3 separate regions of the Homo sapiens genome follow, and regions 2 and 3 are each linked to region 1. Evidence: promoter capture Hi-C in 16 types of primary human blood cells and fetal thymus (Javierre and others, 2016). All regions are on one chromosome and are shown on one strand. Each heading gives the region's core, a stretch centred on a gene start or on the middle of the fragment in contact. The rest is flanking DNA. Distances are from core to core; before and after follow the strand shown. Region 1 holds the start of MDFI (MyoD family inhibitor). Region 2 overlaps NCR2 (natural cytotoxicity triggering receptor 2). Region 3 overlaps LOC100505711 (a long non-coding RNA gene).

Region 1 (5,080 bases), core at 667-3,166:
GTGTGCAGTTAGCCCTCTCCTCTTGCTGCTGGAGCTGAGAATGGCTTCAACAAGGAAGGGGATCTTGGAAGGAGGTAGTGGAGGGAGAGCAGAGAAAATGGATAAGGGGAGGGAGAAAGCTGGAGAGAGTAAGAGGATGGGAGAGCAGGAGGCTGAGGAAGGGAGGAGGCAGGAAGGAGGCCCAGCGGGACAGGGAAGGTTCCCAGACACAGAGAAGGACCCTTCCAAGTGCCCTGCCCCCAGCTGTCCCTCCGGGCTGAAGGAGTCCAATTCTTGGAGGCGCTCATCCTGCAGAAGGCCCCGTTGCAGGGGCCCCACAGAGACAGCAGGCAATTTGAGGCTTGGCCAAGATGGGCTGTAGACACACTGGCCTCATCTATGTGCTGGCTGTTGGCCAGACATCTTCCACTTGTCCTCACTCTGGTTTAGAGGACCCCCCACCTCCACAACTAGGCGTCCATACCAAGTAGGTGGGGAGTGGAGAGGGGCCTCCTAGAACAGGCAGGCAGGCCGGCTTCGAGGGCGCATGTGGAGGCTCAGGCCAGAGAAGGGAAGGAGCTTGTCCAAGGCAAGGCAGGGAGTTCGTGTCAGAGGTTCAGGAACAGACCTTCATTATTCAGAGTCAAAGAGGGGAAAGGGGGAATGGCGCTGGTGGGGAGGAAGGCAACGACTTAGACAGTGGAGATTCCAATTATGAAATCCGGGTCCACACTCCTGCACGCGGTTCCCCTGGCCCTGAACACATCCCAGAGGTTCCTGACTTCTCCTTGACCCGGACTTCCATTTGGGAGCTTCGGCTTAGGCATCTGGCCAGTGAGGGGAAGGGACTGAGAACCAGGGCCGGCGAGGCCCCTACTCCAAACCCCTTCAGGGAGTCACAAACCGTACTTGGCGTGAGAGGCTCCCCCAGGAATCGCGGGTAGGTTACAGACGGCGCCAGGCGCGGGACGGGGCATTTCACTTGGGCTGAAGACACTGGGTTGGGGTGCGTGTGTGTGCACAGGGCAGGGGCGGCGGGGACTGGCCGGCACGAGAGGGAAGGAAGGCGAGGGAGAAGGGATGGCAAGAAAGAGGGGAGGGGCTGGGTCCTGCAGCCGCTCGCGGCAGACAAAAGTTTTCGGGAAGCGCTGGGCTCTGGTTGGGCTGGGGGAAGGGAAGTAGAGAAAGATTCAGACAACGCCCCCTCCCCCACACCAGGCCCCCACAAATATTTACACACTGGGCAGAAACAGTTGAGACACAAATCCCAGACGGACAGACACCGCGGAGTGTATGTGTGTGTGTTTGTGTGTGTGTGTGTGTGTGTCTGGTGTCGGGAGTTGCGGGGAGTTGGAGCCAACTTGGCGCAGCCGCAGCCTCTGTTCAGGGCCCTGCCTCCCTCGCCCAGCCCCCTACTCTCCTTGGACCAAGTCCTCAAACCCAGACTTTTCGTCCCTACCCCCACCAAGCTCCCTGGAACGGTCTCCCCGCGTCTGGGGACGGAGAGGAGAACTAATAACTGGCCCCTTCAGCCGCCCACCCGCCCCTGTCCAGCTTCGCTCGCCACTCCCGGTCCTACCTGGGCCCGGGGCTGCGCTGGGGGCTCCATAGGGCGCGTCGCAGCCAGAGGGGCGCTGGCCGCTCACCTGGTACATCGGCCCCGGACCTGCGGAAAACAGGGCTCAGCGGGCGGCGCCGGAGGCGGGCAAGGGGCGATTCCCCCGCAGATGCGCGCCTCCCACGTCCACTCACTCGTGCGAGCCGTGCTACGCTCTCTTCCAGCCGGATCCCCGCGCGGGGCCCGCCATGCGCGCCTGCTCCGGGCGCCCCTGCCCAGGTCCCGCTGGCTCCCGGGTGCTCGCCTGGCGCCCCTTCCCCTCTCACTCGCTGCTTTCTCCCATTTCGGCGCCAGCTCACGCCGTTCGCCCCTTCCTTCTTCCTTCTCTCCCTCCAGCCCCCCTCGCTCCTCCCCTACTCGCCTCTCCCCTCCCCTCTTCCCTGGCCCACCCTCTCCCCGCCCCCTCCTCGCCTTCTCAGTCGCCCCTCTGCGGGTCCCCTCCCCCGCGCCGGGCTTGGCCCAGCCAGGAGCCGGACACGTCTGTCCGCGGGGCGCCCGAGGCCCGAGCCCCCACAGGAAGCCGGCTGGGCGCGCTTCCTCCGCGCTCTCGGAGCGGGGCCTCAGTCTCCCCGACTCCCTGCTCTCTGAGGCCCGGAGATCCGCGGGCTGCACGTTTTCCTTTGCCTGTCCAAACTCTGCAAAAGTTTCTGGAAAATCAGGAGAAAGAGAGAAACCTCAACCACTTCGTGGAACTGTCTGAATAATTGCGGCCTCCAAATCTCTTTGCCCCAAAGATGGGCGCGATCAAGTTTCTCAGTCACGTTTTACCCACCCCCTCGGTCTCCTCCCGGGGTCCTAAGCCAGGGACAGGGATCTGGGCTCCCAGGCCACCCGCCCACAGCGCCAGAGTTGTCTGTCCGGGAAATCCGGTTAGTGACCAACCAGCCTGCCCTGTGCCGCAGCAGCCCAGAGCATCCTCGACCCTCCTGCCCCTACCAGCTGTGCGTGGGAATGTGTGTCAGAAAACCGACTTTGGGGGCAAAGAGAGGTCCTCCGAATTCAGCCCTTCTTTGGGATCCAGACTGAATCCGAGGGCTTCTAAGATGAGGGTTCGGGGAGAAAGGGGAGGGAGGGAGCCTCTCCCGGTGGGGCCAGCCGGGCGGCGCGTCTGGATGGTGAGCCGTGGTGGTAGGAAGAAGCCGCTGCCAGGCAGTCCAAGAGGGTTCAGGGGCCCTCAGCGCGACCCCGGAACCTGGTCCCCGAGAATGGGGAAGACTTTGGAGCCTGCGGCTCTCCAGGTGGGGCTGGGCGGGCCCGTGGGATGATGCTCAGGTGGGGCAGCCCCCTGGGGTGACAGCGTCTCGGCCGTACTTGTCTAGGGCCGCCTAGGAGCCGCGTCTGGGCTCCCCGCCACGAGGGCCAGTGAGCACACTGGAAGGCAGCGGCGGCACCAGGCCACCTTTTCTAGTCCCGAGTCCAGCCGGGTCTGGAAGTGGAGAGCTGGGACGCAGGAGGCCGGGCGTCCCAGCTCCCCACTTCTTGGACTCTCCTAGCCCCCATAGTCGCTACTTACGGCTATCGCAGGTCCTGGGGCGCCGTCGGGGCCAGGACCGGGATGGCCCCCACGGCGCCGGCAGCGCTCTCGGCACCCGCGGCCACGTCCCAGCGATGGGCTGGGGTGGTTGCGGCCCGGAGGAAGGTGGGGCGGGACAAGAAGAGAGTGTTCCGCCCCCCAGGCCGGGCTGCTAGCCGCGGGGGTCTGTCCTAGTGCCCCAGGAGCCGGCCGGGATCCGGCTGCTGTCCGGGAGCTCTGGAGAGCTGAGCCAACTCCCGCTTCCTGGCACGGGCTGAGTCACCCGGACGGGACGCGCCCGCGCCTGGGCCTGGCGGCTGCTGCATTCTTACCTGCTTACCTGGGCGCGCACGCTGGGCCTCACCCACCTCCGAAGGCAATCCTCACCGTCTCTCTCCGTTTCCTCCCGCGTATAGGGCCCCCTCCCGAACCCCAGACCTCAGTGCTGCACCCCTCCCCCTGCTTTCTCGTCTCAATCCAGGGCCCCTAAACTCTGCATCAGCTCAGTCCCGGAGCCTTACTATTCCAAGTCGCCTGCTTGATCTCAAAAGTCCTCTGAATCTGGCCCAGTACTAATGTCTGTTTTGTTGGAAATGTAAATTATGCTTTAAATTTAATCACGCATGCTGGTTATACAGGTGTGCTCATTTTGTAAGGATGCAGCAAGCTGAACATTTATGATGCAGGCACTTGTTTGTATGACTATTATACTTGAATAAAAAGTTTTTAAAAATCAACACATTAAAATCAACATTCCAGTTCAGAGCATGATAGGATATGATGGCCAGGCTGGAGGCCTGGCATGGGAGCCCAGTTTCCAGACCCACCATCTACTATATTTCTTTGGGGAAATCCCTTTGCCTCTCAGCCTCAGGAGGGATGAGCACTGGGGCCCAGGACCAGGACTGGGGTGAGGTAAGTGAGACACTCACCTGGTGTGCAAGATTTCGGGGATGCCAAGATAAGGAATTTTTTTTTTGGAGGCAGGATTTTGCTCTGTCCGCCAGGCTGGAGTGTGGTGGTGAGATCTCAGCTCATTACAATCTCCACTTCCCAAGTTAAAGCAGCTGGGACTACAGGTGCTTGCCACCACACCTGGCTAATTTTTTTTAGTAGAGACGGGGTTTTACCGTGTTGGCCAGGCTGGTCTGGAACTCCTGACCTCAAGTGATCTGCCTGCCTTGGCCTCTCAAAGTGCTGAGATTACAGGCATGAGCCACCGTGCCCAGACTGATGAGGAATATTTTAAGGCAATATTTTAATATACCAAATGGGCAAACTACAGTTCTTTGGGCCAGCTGCCTTGTTTTTTTTAAATAAAGTTGTATTGGAAACAGGACCAGGATTAAGGTAATTAATCACGCAAGTTCAGGGTCAGATCCTGTCTTTATCTAAAATGTTGGCATTTTGTTTATCATAGACTTTTTGGCATTAATTTGGATTTTTATACATATTGCAGGAAAATATTGTTTTATCTTAATTACTGAGTTTTTTGATGCCCCCTTAAGTTTTGAACCTGAGCCAAGTGCCTCATTCACTCCAGGTTTCACATGCCTCACCCTAGACCCGGCCCTGTTATTGTCTCTTCCTGAAGGACCTGTCCAGGAAGCCAGGGTAAATGAGGGGAGATCAAAGGTGTTCCCCCACCCAACACTGTCACACACACACATATGCACAGCACCAAGTGGGCTCTGCACCCAAGCCCAGGCCCAGCTTCCCCGGGGCCCACCGATCAGTTCAGAATAAAGCGCAAAGTCCCTCAGTCTCCATGAACTGGGCCCCACCTGCCTTGGCCCTCATCTCCCCTTACTTATTCCCTGCCAGCCATGCTACTTCCTTTTCTCGGTTAATTTGCCAGGCACCTTCTCGCCTCAGGGCCTTTGCCCTTGCTCTTTCCTCTGCCCAGAATGTGCATCCCCTAGATACCCACATTGGCCCTTTCCTCGTTTCTTCTGCTTATGTCAGCTTCT
Region 2 (5,080 bases), core at 860-3,359, 290 kb after region 1:
AAATACTGACAGCTGCAGGGAACACTGTTTCCCACCACTGTGCCTGAGCTCCTTTCTTGCAGCCCAGTTTGGGGAGGGCAGCAAAGCCAGACGAAAGGGTGTTGTCCCAGGTCAAATATGGGAAGGACATAGTTAAGCTTTGTGCCTGGTCAGGTAACTGGCAGGTCACGGTGATTGGCTGAGATGCTCTCCCTTCCCCACAGAGGCCCTTCCTGTTCCCTTCCCTCAGTTCCTCAGGCTCAGATTTTTCTCCTCAGGAGCATCAGATCTGGGAGCCCTGGAGGGCTGGGGAAGGGGAAGCGGCCACATGTATACCCACCCCTGGGATCAGCCTCCTGCTGGTCCTCTGGCTGCAAGGTCACTTCTTCCTGCCCCACTTCCCTCTCCAGCCTTCTTTCTTGTCCTCCTCCCCAGTCCCCCATCTGAAGCTGAGGGCACCTGCAAACTAGGTGCAGGTGCCATTAGCAGCAAGAGGCAGAGGAGAGGGTCCTCCCAACCAAGCCGCTTCTCCTTGAGCTCTTGGGGTGGTGACCGAGGAATCCTCAGAGAGGGTGCTGGGAGGGAATAGGATTTGTTCAGGAGGAGGGGAGTCAGGAGGAGGAGAGAGGAAAGCCTCAGCCCTGGAAGCATGGCTGGACCACTTGCTCCTGCTCTCTTACCTACTAATGCTTGAGAAAGGTTGGTTGGGGAAAAAATAGTAGATACAAGAATCTAACATATTTCCCTTTATTGAATGTCGGGATTCTTAGAATTGGAAAAATGATGTTTACATATAATGTACAAAGAAAAGAGAAAAACACCAGGAAAGCTGGTGTGGTGTGTGCAACTCTAGGTGCAGCTGTTGTGGAGATCTGCTGACCAATGTCAAGTTCAGGGCTGCACCAAGATTTGAGCACCTCGCTGAGACTGTGGACTCTGCTTCGATGGTGGCTGTGTTGGCTGTTATCCCATAACCACAGGAAGTCCCTGGGTGTTTGGGCCAGCAGGGTTGGAATTCTACCAGGTATTGGCTAGGGTGCATTTTTGTAATCAGTAGGCCCGGGGCTGGGGGTGGGGGTGTGTGTGCCTTTTTGTGATCTCTCTGCAAGATGGGTCATTTGTCTAATTTCCATGGAGGAACAGGATGGGCCTATAGCAGGCCCTGTCATCATCAGAGCTCAGGGGCCAGGTGCTCCACTCCACTTCTGTATTTTTAACTCACGGTATTTTTTTTTATGTGGAAGTATTTTTAAATAAATTGCAGATATCCTGACATTCCACCCTTAAATAATTTATCATACATTTCTAAAACAAGAGCTCTTGCTGCTTAGCAAATTAATATGATCACAGCCAATGCAATTAAAAATAGTTTCTTAATAGACTCTACTACTCAGTGCATATTCACATTTAGACCCAACAAGTTCAGCACTTCAACCATAAGCAGAAACTCTGGTCTGTCTGAAACCTTGGCTGTCGCCAGACTTTCTTTTTTCTTTTTTTGAGACAGAGTTTCTCTCTTGTTTCCCAGGCTGGAGTGCAATGGCGCGATCTCGGCTCACTGCAACCTCCACCTCCCAGGTTCAAGCAATTCTGCTGCCTCAGCCTCCCTAGTAGCTGGGATTACAGGCATGTGCCACCACGCCCGGCTAATTTTGCATTTTTAGTAGAGACAGGGTTTCTCCATGTTGGTCAGGCTGGTCTCGAACGCCCAACCTCAGGTGATCTGCCTGCCTCGGCCTCCCAAAGTGCTGGGATTACAGGCATGAGCCACCACGCCCGGCCGGCTGTCCGCAGACTTTCTAGCCTTTGGCAGGGTATGGAGCCTGGTACCCAGAGGAGCCCAGGAAGGAAGGCGAAACTGGAAACAGGAAGCCGGAGACTGGGGTTTCCAAGAAAAAGACCGCAGACCCTGGGAGCCTAAATTTTCCCTGGATACCAGGAAGCTCCCAGAACCTTAGGGGTGAGTAGAGATGGGGCAGGGTTTCGCCTCCTTCCTGGGACTGTGTGCCCTCTTTCGGGCTCATGGAAGGTCATGGCATCCTGACTAACATGACTTCACAGCAAAGTTCCTCATCCTTGTTGGGCTCCTTCCCCCACTGTCTGGTACCCACTAGTGTCCTGCTTTTCTATCCCTCTCCAGCCACATATTTTCAGCTTTGCTCCCCCTCCACTGTCCCCTTCCCTCAGCCTGTGCTGGAATCTTGCACAGGGGCCCCGCCACCTATGGACTCACAACTGTGTTCCCAGGCTGGCTCCTTTTGTTTGTGTCCTGTGGTGCTTGGTCCCTGAGCTGGGCACAGGCAGGTGTTGAGTTCATGCTTATTGACTTATCCTCATGGGGAAGGGGTTTCAGAACTCATCTCCACCCCCTTCATTTTCTAGAGAAAGAAACGGACGTTCAGAGAGGGGCAGTGACCTATCTGTCCGAGTTCATACAGGGCTGAGCTGAGAAAACAAACCCAGGTCTTGTTTCCAAGCCTTGCTCGCCCACAGCCTTTCTACTCACTGGGCTTGTGTACAGTGCCCTTCCCTGATTATAACAGCATCTAAGGCAGCTCCCAGACGTACAGGGGACATCAGGTGAACTGAAGATAAGAAAGGGTTATGATGGAGGAAAGAGGGCAAACTAGAGAAGCTGGTCCCCTAGAGATCAAATGTGCGGATGCAGACAGAGTTTGAAGGAAACTTAGGAAACAACAGGAATAAAACATTCAGATAATTTTATTATTCACAAAGTGTGTTCATCATCATCATCGCTTATCTTAGTCCTTGCAACAGTGTGATATAATATTTCTCTCTCTACAGGTGAGGAAACTGAGGTCCAGGGAAGGTCCGTGACCTGTTGAAGGTGGCAGGTGGCTTTTTGGGTATCCAGGCTCCTGAGCTCCATCATGGTTTTCCACCATATGTCCCCCCTGCAATCAGAGCAGGAAACCAGGAAGGTGGTCAGAGACTGCCACATAATTGCACATAGGTGCAGAGGCAACCCCTTCCCCATCCCACTACTCGCAGGGTTGGTTGCCATACCCACCTCACAAGGATGAAGTCTGCTCCTGGCCACTGCTGCCAGAAAAGTGTCAGTGAGCATGCATGGATTTTGAGCCCAGTTTGGTCAGTTTCCTCACCCTGATTTTTTCCTTTATTTTCCTCTACTGTCCACCAAGAAGAGGGGCCTGTTTCCTTCAAGTCTCCAGGTTCACCCTCTGCCCACACACTATTATCTGTCTTTTCAGCTGCAGTAAGCTCTGGAAAGGCAGATGGTCTCTGCTGTGTCACAGTTGAGTCTGCTTTCTTCTACACCTCACTCCCTCTAAAACTCAGCCTTTGTTGGGTGTTCTCCTTTTGTCTGGTGCTTTTTGAATACATCACCCTACTTAGAAATCCAAATAGCTTGGTAATATGTGTGTTATCAGTTCTGTTTTTACCAATAAGAAGACTCGGGGTAGAGACCTTAAGAAACTTTTCCAGCATCATTTAGTTGGTAAAAAGGAAGGGGGTTCTTTGTTACACAATGGCAGAAAGTTTAGCAACACTGTCATCTGCAGTAATGTGGAAAGTAGAAAATGTCCCTCATGAGCTGGGTTGTACAGCTAGGATTTCCAGGCAAACTCTTGAAAGTGCTACCTGGTTTCTTCTTGTGGCTCATTGTGAAATGAGAGAGGTGAGAGGTAAACTCTAGGCAGGATTATTCAACATGAGGGAGCTGGGACTTGATGACTTAAAAAATTCTCAGCCTCCAGACAGTAAATGATGCTAAAATCAAATCCAGGGCACGTTCAGGAATATGTGGTCTAAAGATGAAACCAAGGCTATGCTGTAAAATCCTTTGTTAAGACCTCAGAAAGTTGTGTGTTTAGTAGGAAAAACCAAATTGTTTTCAGGTATGGAAGGGCTGGAGGGCAGGAGCTTCTGGTCTCTGTGGAGCTGGGGTGCACCATACCTCCCAGCACATGAATGTGTTCACCAACTCAGAAGCTCCTGAACCTTACTTTTGTGATTTTTACAGAGACTTCATCATGTCAGCTTGATTGATGATTAATGCAGTCTTCAGCCCCCTCCCCTCCCTGGGGTATGGGAGGTGGGGTGAAAGTTCCAAGCTTTCAATCATGGATTGATCCTTCTGGTGACCAGCCCCCATCCAAGAGCACACTAAGAGTCACCTCTTTAGAGGAAAAGATGCCAGGAAATTCCAAGGGAGGTAGGACCTCTGTGTTAGACACTCCTATCACTCAGGAGATTAGAAAGGTCTTAGGAGCTCTGTGTCAGGAGCAGAGGTCAAAGACCAAATATGAGAACAAAAGATTATCTTAGCACTCCCATTTATAAGGGTCTCAGGAGCTCTGTGTCAGGAACTAGGGTCAAAGAAATATATATATATATGAAAATTATATACATGATAATATATGCATAATATATAAAATTATAATTTATTTAAAATTATTAATAAAAATTAATATAAAATATATAAATAAAATATAAAAAATAAAAATATAAAAAATTTATAAAATATATTAAAAATATAATAAACTATAATAATTTATATAAAATTATAATGATTTCAATAATGTATAATAATTATTATTTCACATAGTGTCTCAGGCAAAAGGCCCTTTCATGAATTTAAGGGTGCGTGCTTCATAGATTTTTCAGTCGAACATTAGATCTTCTAAGAAGTATAAAGACATTATCCTCACTTTCTTGTCAGAAGCACATGGTGTGGAAGAGATCTTCTCTTGGAGAAATTTGTGGGTATGGTCTTTGTCTAATGGAGTGAGTCACAATAAGTTTTACAGGAGATCCACATTTTTTTTAAGAGAATGACAGTCACAAAACACTGCCAGATTGGACTGAAAGGAACAGAAATAGCATAAAATCTGGGATCTCACTTTGTATCCCCCAAATTAAACTGGCAGGAAGCAGCCTGAGGAAGTTACGAAGCTGTAAATATGGGCTGCCTTTCATGGAAAGAGAAGGGTGGCTCAGAAGACATACTCGAGCACAGAGGAAGGAGCCACGACCACTGAGAATTATTTCTAGGTAGGAGTTGAGCAGTGTCTGAATCAAGGAATTTCCAACATTTTCCCAGCTAAAGTTCTGATTT
Region 3 (5,080 bases), core at 1,905-4,404, 260 kb after region 1:
TGCTGGAGCCCTGCCTCTGTGGGTGCAGCCTGAGGACAAAGGCAGTGCTGCATCCCCTGATCCCCTGCCCCCTACAACCTCCTGCCCAGCCTCTTGGGTGCTCCTCAGCTTGTCGTCAGGGAGGAAGCAGCCATCTCCTCCGATGACTGACTTCAAGCCTCAACTCTCCCACAGCTTCTCAAAAGCCAAGGCTGAGGCCAAGTCCTAGCTGCTGCCTTGGGACAGGTCAAGGGCCTCCTGCAATCTCATGCACAAACTGGTACCCATGAGCATGTGGCCTAAGAGATTTATTGACCCCTCTCCAAGTCCTTGCCAGAGGAATCCTGCACACCTATATCCACAATGAAGGGAGCCATATCCCCAGCTGGGTAGCCATATCCCTAATGATATCACTTATGAAAGGTGACAAGTCCTTTCTACCACTCTTATTTAAGTGAAAATATATTTAGTCAATTATGGTCTTTCTCTTGTGTCTACTGAAAGCATGGTAAGAGTCTGTTTTAACTGAGAATATTTTTTATCTCCTCATTCTACTCCCAAATGAGTTTTTCAGGGTCCCGTGGTCTTGATGGTCTTTCAACTATAGCTGCCTATAAACCCTGTACATAGGGGACACTATGACCCTTGGATCTTTTTCTATAATGTCCATGTTCCAGTGAGCCATAGAGCCAGATCCACTTGAATTCAATTTCCAAAAACAAACCTGCTGGGATTTTGATTGGAATTGTATTGAATCTATGCATTCGTTTTGAGAACTGACATCATTATAATATGAGCCTTCCCATTTGTGAACATGGTATAACCCTACATTTATTTAGGTCTTTAAGTTCCCTCAATAATGCTTTGTAGTTCAGTGTAGAGGTCTTGCACATTTTTCATTTGATTTATTCCTAGGCATTTGATGGGCTTTGCTGCTATTGTAAATTGTATTTTTAGAAGGGATTTTCATAAGCACTAGTGATTGGTAGTGTAGGAAGGAGAACCCCAGCAATACCTGCCCTTCATCTTTAAAGAAATCCAAGCTTATGGAGATATAATTCATATTCCATACAATTCACCCATTTAAAGTATACACTTCAATGGTTTTTAGAATATTTGTAGGTATGTGTAACCATCACCACTGTCAATTTTAAAACATTTTCATCACCTTAAAAAGTAACCTCATGCCCTTTAGCTATTACCCACCTATTGCATCTGTTACAGTCTGAATACGTCTCCCCTCTAAATTCATATGTTGAAATCCTAACCCTCAAGGTGATGGCATTAGGAGGTGGGGCCTTTTAGGAGGCGATTAGGTCATGATAGCAGAGTTCTTGTGAATGGGATTAGTGCCCTTATAAAAAAGGCCCAGAGAGTTACTTTACCTCTTCTAGCAAGTGAGGACACAGTGAGAAGTCTCCACCTGGAGAAAGTGGGCCCTCACCAGACACCAAATCTGCTGCTGCCTTCATGCTGGACTTCCCAGCCTCCAGAACTATGAGAAATAAATTCCTGCTGCCTATAAGCCACCCAGTCTATGGTATTTTGTTACAGCAGCCCAAATGAACTAAGACAGCATTTAAAAAGAATAATTTCATTTTCTAATTTTTGTTGCTGTTATAGATAAATATAATTTATCTTAATGCATCAATCTTGTATTAAAAAAACTTGTATTTAGGCTGGGCACAGTGGCTCATGTCTGCAATCCCAGCACTTTGGGAGGCCGAGGTGGGCAGATCATCTGAGGTCAGGAGTTCAAGGCCAGCCTGGCCAACAAGGTGAAACCCCATCTCTACAAAAATACAAAAATTAGCCAGGCATGATGATGGATGCATGTAATCCCAGCTACTCAGGAGACTGAGGTGGGAGAATTGCTTGAACCCAGGAGGCGGAGGTTGAAATGAGCTGAGATCACGCCATTGCACTCCAGCCTGGGCAACAGAGCAAGACTCTGTCTCAAAAAAAAAAGCAAACAAACAAAAACAACAATAACAACAACAAAAATCTTATTATTTAGTGACTTGGCTAAATTCACCATTAATTCCAGTAGTTTGCAGATTATTTTGAATTTTCTATTTATATAATCATATCATCTATGAATAATATTTCTCCTTTCCCTCTACCAATCCTTAAATCTTTTATTTCATTTTCTTGTCTTATTGTCCGGGCTAGGATATCTAATACAATGTTAAATAGAAGTGTTGATACTGGATATTGTATCTTCTCCTGATAGAAAGGAGGAAACTTTCACTATTTCATCATTAAGCATAATTATTGCTGTAGGAGTTTGTAGATAGTCTTTATCAGATTGAGGAAGTTCCCTCTAAGTGTACTATGTTTATCATGAATGGCCTACTAAGTTCAAATCCTGAATCTGACACTTATTAGTCATTCTACTTTAGGGAAGTCACTTGCCTTCTCTGAACTTCAGTTTCTCCATCTTAAACTGCAGATTTCTATCTTAAAAGTTCTTGTGAAACTGAGGACATTTATAAGGGACACCCAACCCATAGTAGGTGCTCAGTTAAATGCCTGGCATTACATTGTTTTATTTATCATCCTTCTCCCCCAGTATATATGCCCCATGAGGGTTCGCTTTGCCTCTGTTGTTCATTACTGTATCCCTAGTATTTAGAACAGTGCCTGACAAATAGAATTTGCTTCTGGAAAAAAATGTGATTAACCAATGTAAATTTCCTTTTTTCTGGAATGCTATGTCTATTAGGCATGATTTTAGAACCAAGAATTATACTTACCCCTAGACAATCACATTGTTCTATTGAACACTTCCAAAGTTCGGTGCTGACTTTCCTTTTTGACTATTAACATGTGTCATATTTTCCGCTTCTAGATCATTTAATCCAGATTTGCAATCCCTTCTCCCCTAACTTTCTGTACACCAAGAACAGAGCTCAAGGGTAGAGTCTCAGCACTCCCAGCTGCACTGCATGACAGTAGACAAGTCCCTTCCCCTTCTGAGCCTCTGGGAGAGGGTCAGATGCCTCCAACTTAGGGGTTTCCTCCAATTGTGGTTCCAAGGCACACGCGATGCTGTGGCCTTGTAAATCTCCTGAGAATCTGCCTTGCTTTTTCCAAGTATCTCTTGAGAACAGGAAATAAACCACCCCCCACAAATTCTGAAATCAGGGAGGTGAATGAGGAGCTTGCAGCCTGAGGGATGAAGACTAGAACAGGGACTCCTCTGGTCACTTCCAATGCTACCTACCCTCAGTTCACATCAGAAATTCCAGAGCACATCTTTCTCCCCTCCTGGGGAATGTTCTCCCTTTGCCACCGAATCCCTTCTGTCCTCCACATCAAGGGTTCTTAACCTTGGCATCACTGGCATTTTGGGCTGGAAAATTTCTTTGTTGTGGAAGCTGCTCTGTGCATTATAGGATACACACTCACCCCAACTCATACTCACCATCCTCTTGTCTGAACTCTGAGCAGCCCAAACCAGACTTACCACCATACCAGGTGGAAATAGTGGCTAACATTTATGGGCACTACTCTCATGAGAAGGTTCCGTCTGTGAGAAAGTGGGTCCTCACCAGACACCAAATCTTCTGGTGTCTTGATGCTGGACTTTCCAGGCTCTAGAACTGTAAGAAATAAATTTCTGCTGCCTACAAGCCATCCAGTCTATGGTATTTTGTTACAGCAACCCAAATGAACTAATACAGCATTTAAAAGGAACAATTTCATTTTCCATTTTTTGTTGCTGTTATAGAGAAATATATTTATCTGGTGTAATCCTCACAACATCCCCGTGAGTAAATATTAGCATTTTCCTCTCCATACTCCAGATAAGGATACTGAGGCTCAGAGATGTGAAGTCACTTGTCCAAGATTACATAGATAGTAAGTGGTGGAGCTGGGATTTGGCCCCAGCTGTCAGGTTCACCTGACAGAGGCATAAACCACTACTCATTCTATTCCATTAGATATCTCCTCCGTGATTTCCTGGGTGTCTATCTGCCTCCCAAACTTGATTGCAAATCTTTGAAGGCAGGGGCTAAAATATATTCACAGATACTTTACAGTGTTGAACACAGGGGAAGAGGGCCAAACATGATTCATTGATTGATTTCCTGCTACTGTAGAGTTTGCAGCATTAGAATATGTGAGCGTATGAATGAGATTGAGGACTAGGGAGAAGAAATTTCCAATTTCAGGCTTTAATAATTATAAATTCACAAAATGCACTTAATATAGGTACCCATCTCAATGAATTTGCATAATCTGAACACACTTGTGTAACTACATCAAGAATCAGAAGACCACCATTGGCCCAGAAACCTCCTTCATAATCCCTTTTAGCCATGCCTTCTCTAAGTAACCATGATTCTGCTTTCTAATAGCATACATAGATTTATTTTGCCTGTTTTTGTACTTTAAATAAATGGAACCACAGAGAATGTACTTTCGGGTCTGATTTCTTTTTCTTTTCCTTCTTCTTTTCTCTTCTTTCTTTCTTTTTCTTAAAGACAAGGTCTCACTCTGTTGCTCAGGCTGGAATGCAGTGGGTGCCATGACAGTTCACTGCAGCCTCGACCTCCTGGGCTCAAGTGATCCTCCCATCTCAGCCTCCCCAGTGGCTGGGACTACAGATGCTCTAATTTTTGTACTTTTGTAGAGACAGGTCTTGAATTCCTGGGCTCAAGCGATCTGCCCGCCTCTGCCTCCCAAAGTGCTGGGATTATAGTTGTGAGCCATTGAGCCAGGCCAGGTCCAGTTTCTTTTGCTCAGCATGAGAGTCATCTATGTGGTTACATGTAGCATAGCTCATTCTTTCTCTTTTCTATATAGTATTCCAGTGTGTAACTATATCACAGCTAATTTCATAGCTAATGGACATTTGGTAGTTTGCAGTTTGGGGCTATTGTGAAGAGTACTGTGTAAACATTTTTTTGTACATGTCCTTTGGTGAGCATAGGACAGCATTTCTGTTGGGACAATGCCTGCCAGTGGAACTGCTGGGTCATAGGGTATGCATGCTTCAGTTTTAGTAGACACCACCAAAGTTTCTCAGTTTTTATATTTGGAGGCTTTTAAAGCCAACATTGATTTCTACCCCTCCTCAGGCTGCTTTCCTGAA

The links. Contacts are between HindIII fragments. The CHiCAGO score rates a contact against its expected background, and 5 or more counts as called.
Region 2: a contact is called between a fragment that was not itself captured here and the fragment with the promoter of MDFI in region 1, in 1 of 17 cell types (M1 macrophages). The highest score is 6.6, in M1 macrophages.
Region 3: a fragment that was not itself captured here is called in contact with the fragment with the promoter of MDFI in region 1 in 2 of 17 cell types (fetal thymus and M1 macrophages); the score reaches 6.8 in fetal thymus.

The regions. Positions count from the first base shown.
Region 1 is chr6:41,635,304-41,640,383 of GRCh38, reverse strand. It overlaps MDFI (MyoD family inhibitor), which reads right to left and starts at 1,916. Exons shown (of 5, transcript NM_005586.4): 1 at 1,732-1,916; 2 at 1,559-1,645. The coding sequence starts at 1,634. The HindIII fragment of the contact is 14,281 bases long and covers 1-5,080 here.
Region 2 is chr6:41,348,492-41,353,571 of GRCh38, reverse strand. NCR2 (natural cytotoxicity triggering receptor 2) reads right to left here. Exons shown (of 5, transcript NM_004828.4): 5 at 2,683-2,894. The coding sequence ends at 2,708. Among named protein-coding and RNA genes, the nearest start is that of NCR2, 15 kb to the right of the region's middle. The HindIII fragment of the contact is 3,939 bases long and covers 140-4,078 here.
Region 3 is chr6:41,376,770-41,381,849 of GRCh38, reverse strand. LOC100505711 (a long non-coding RNA gene) reads left to right here. Exons shown (of 3, transcript XR_108647.3): 3 at 1-458. Among named protein-coding and RNA genes, the nearest start is that of NCR2, 44 kb to the right of the region's middle. The HindIII fragment of the contact is 4,260 bases long and covers 1,025-5,080 here.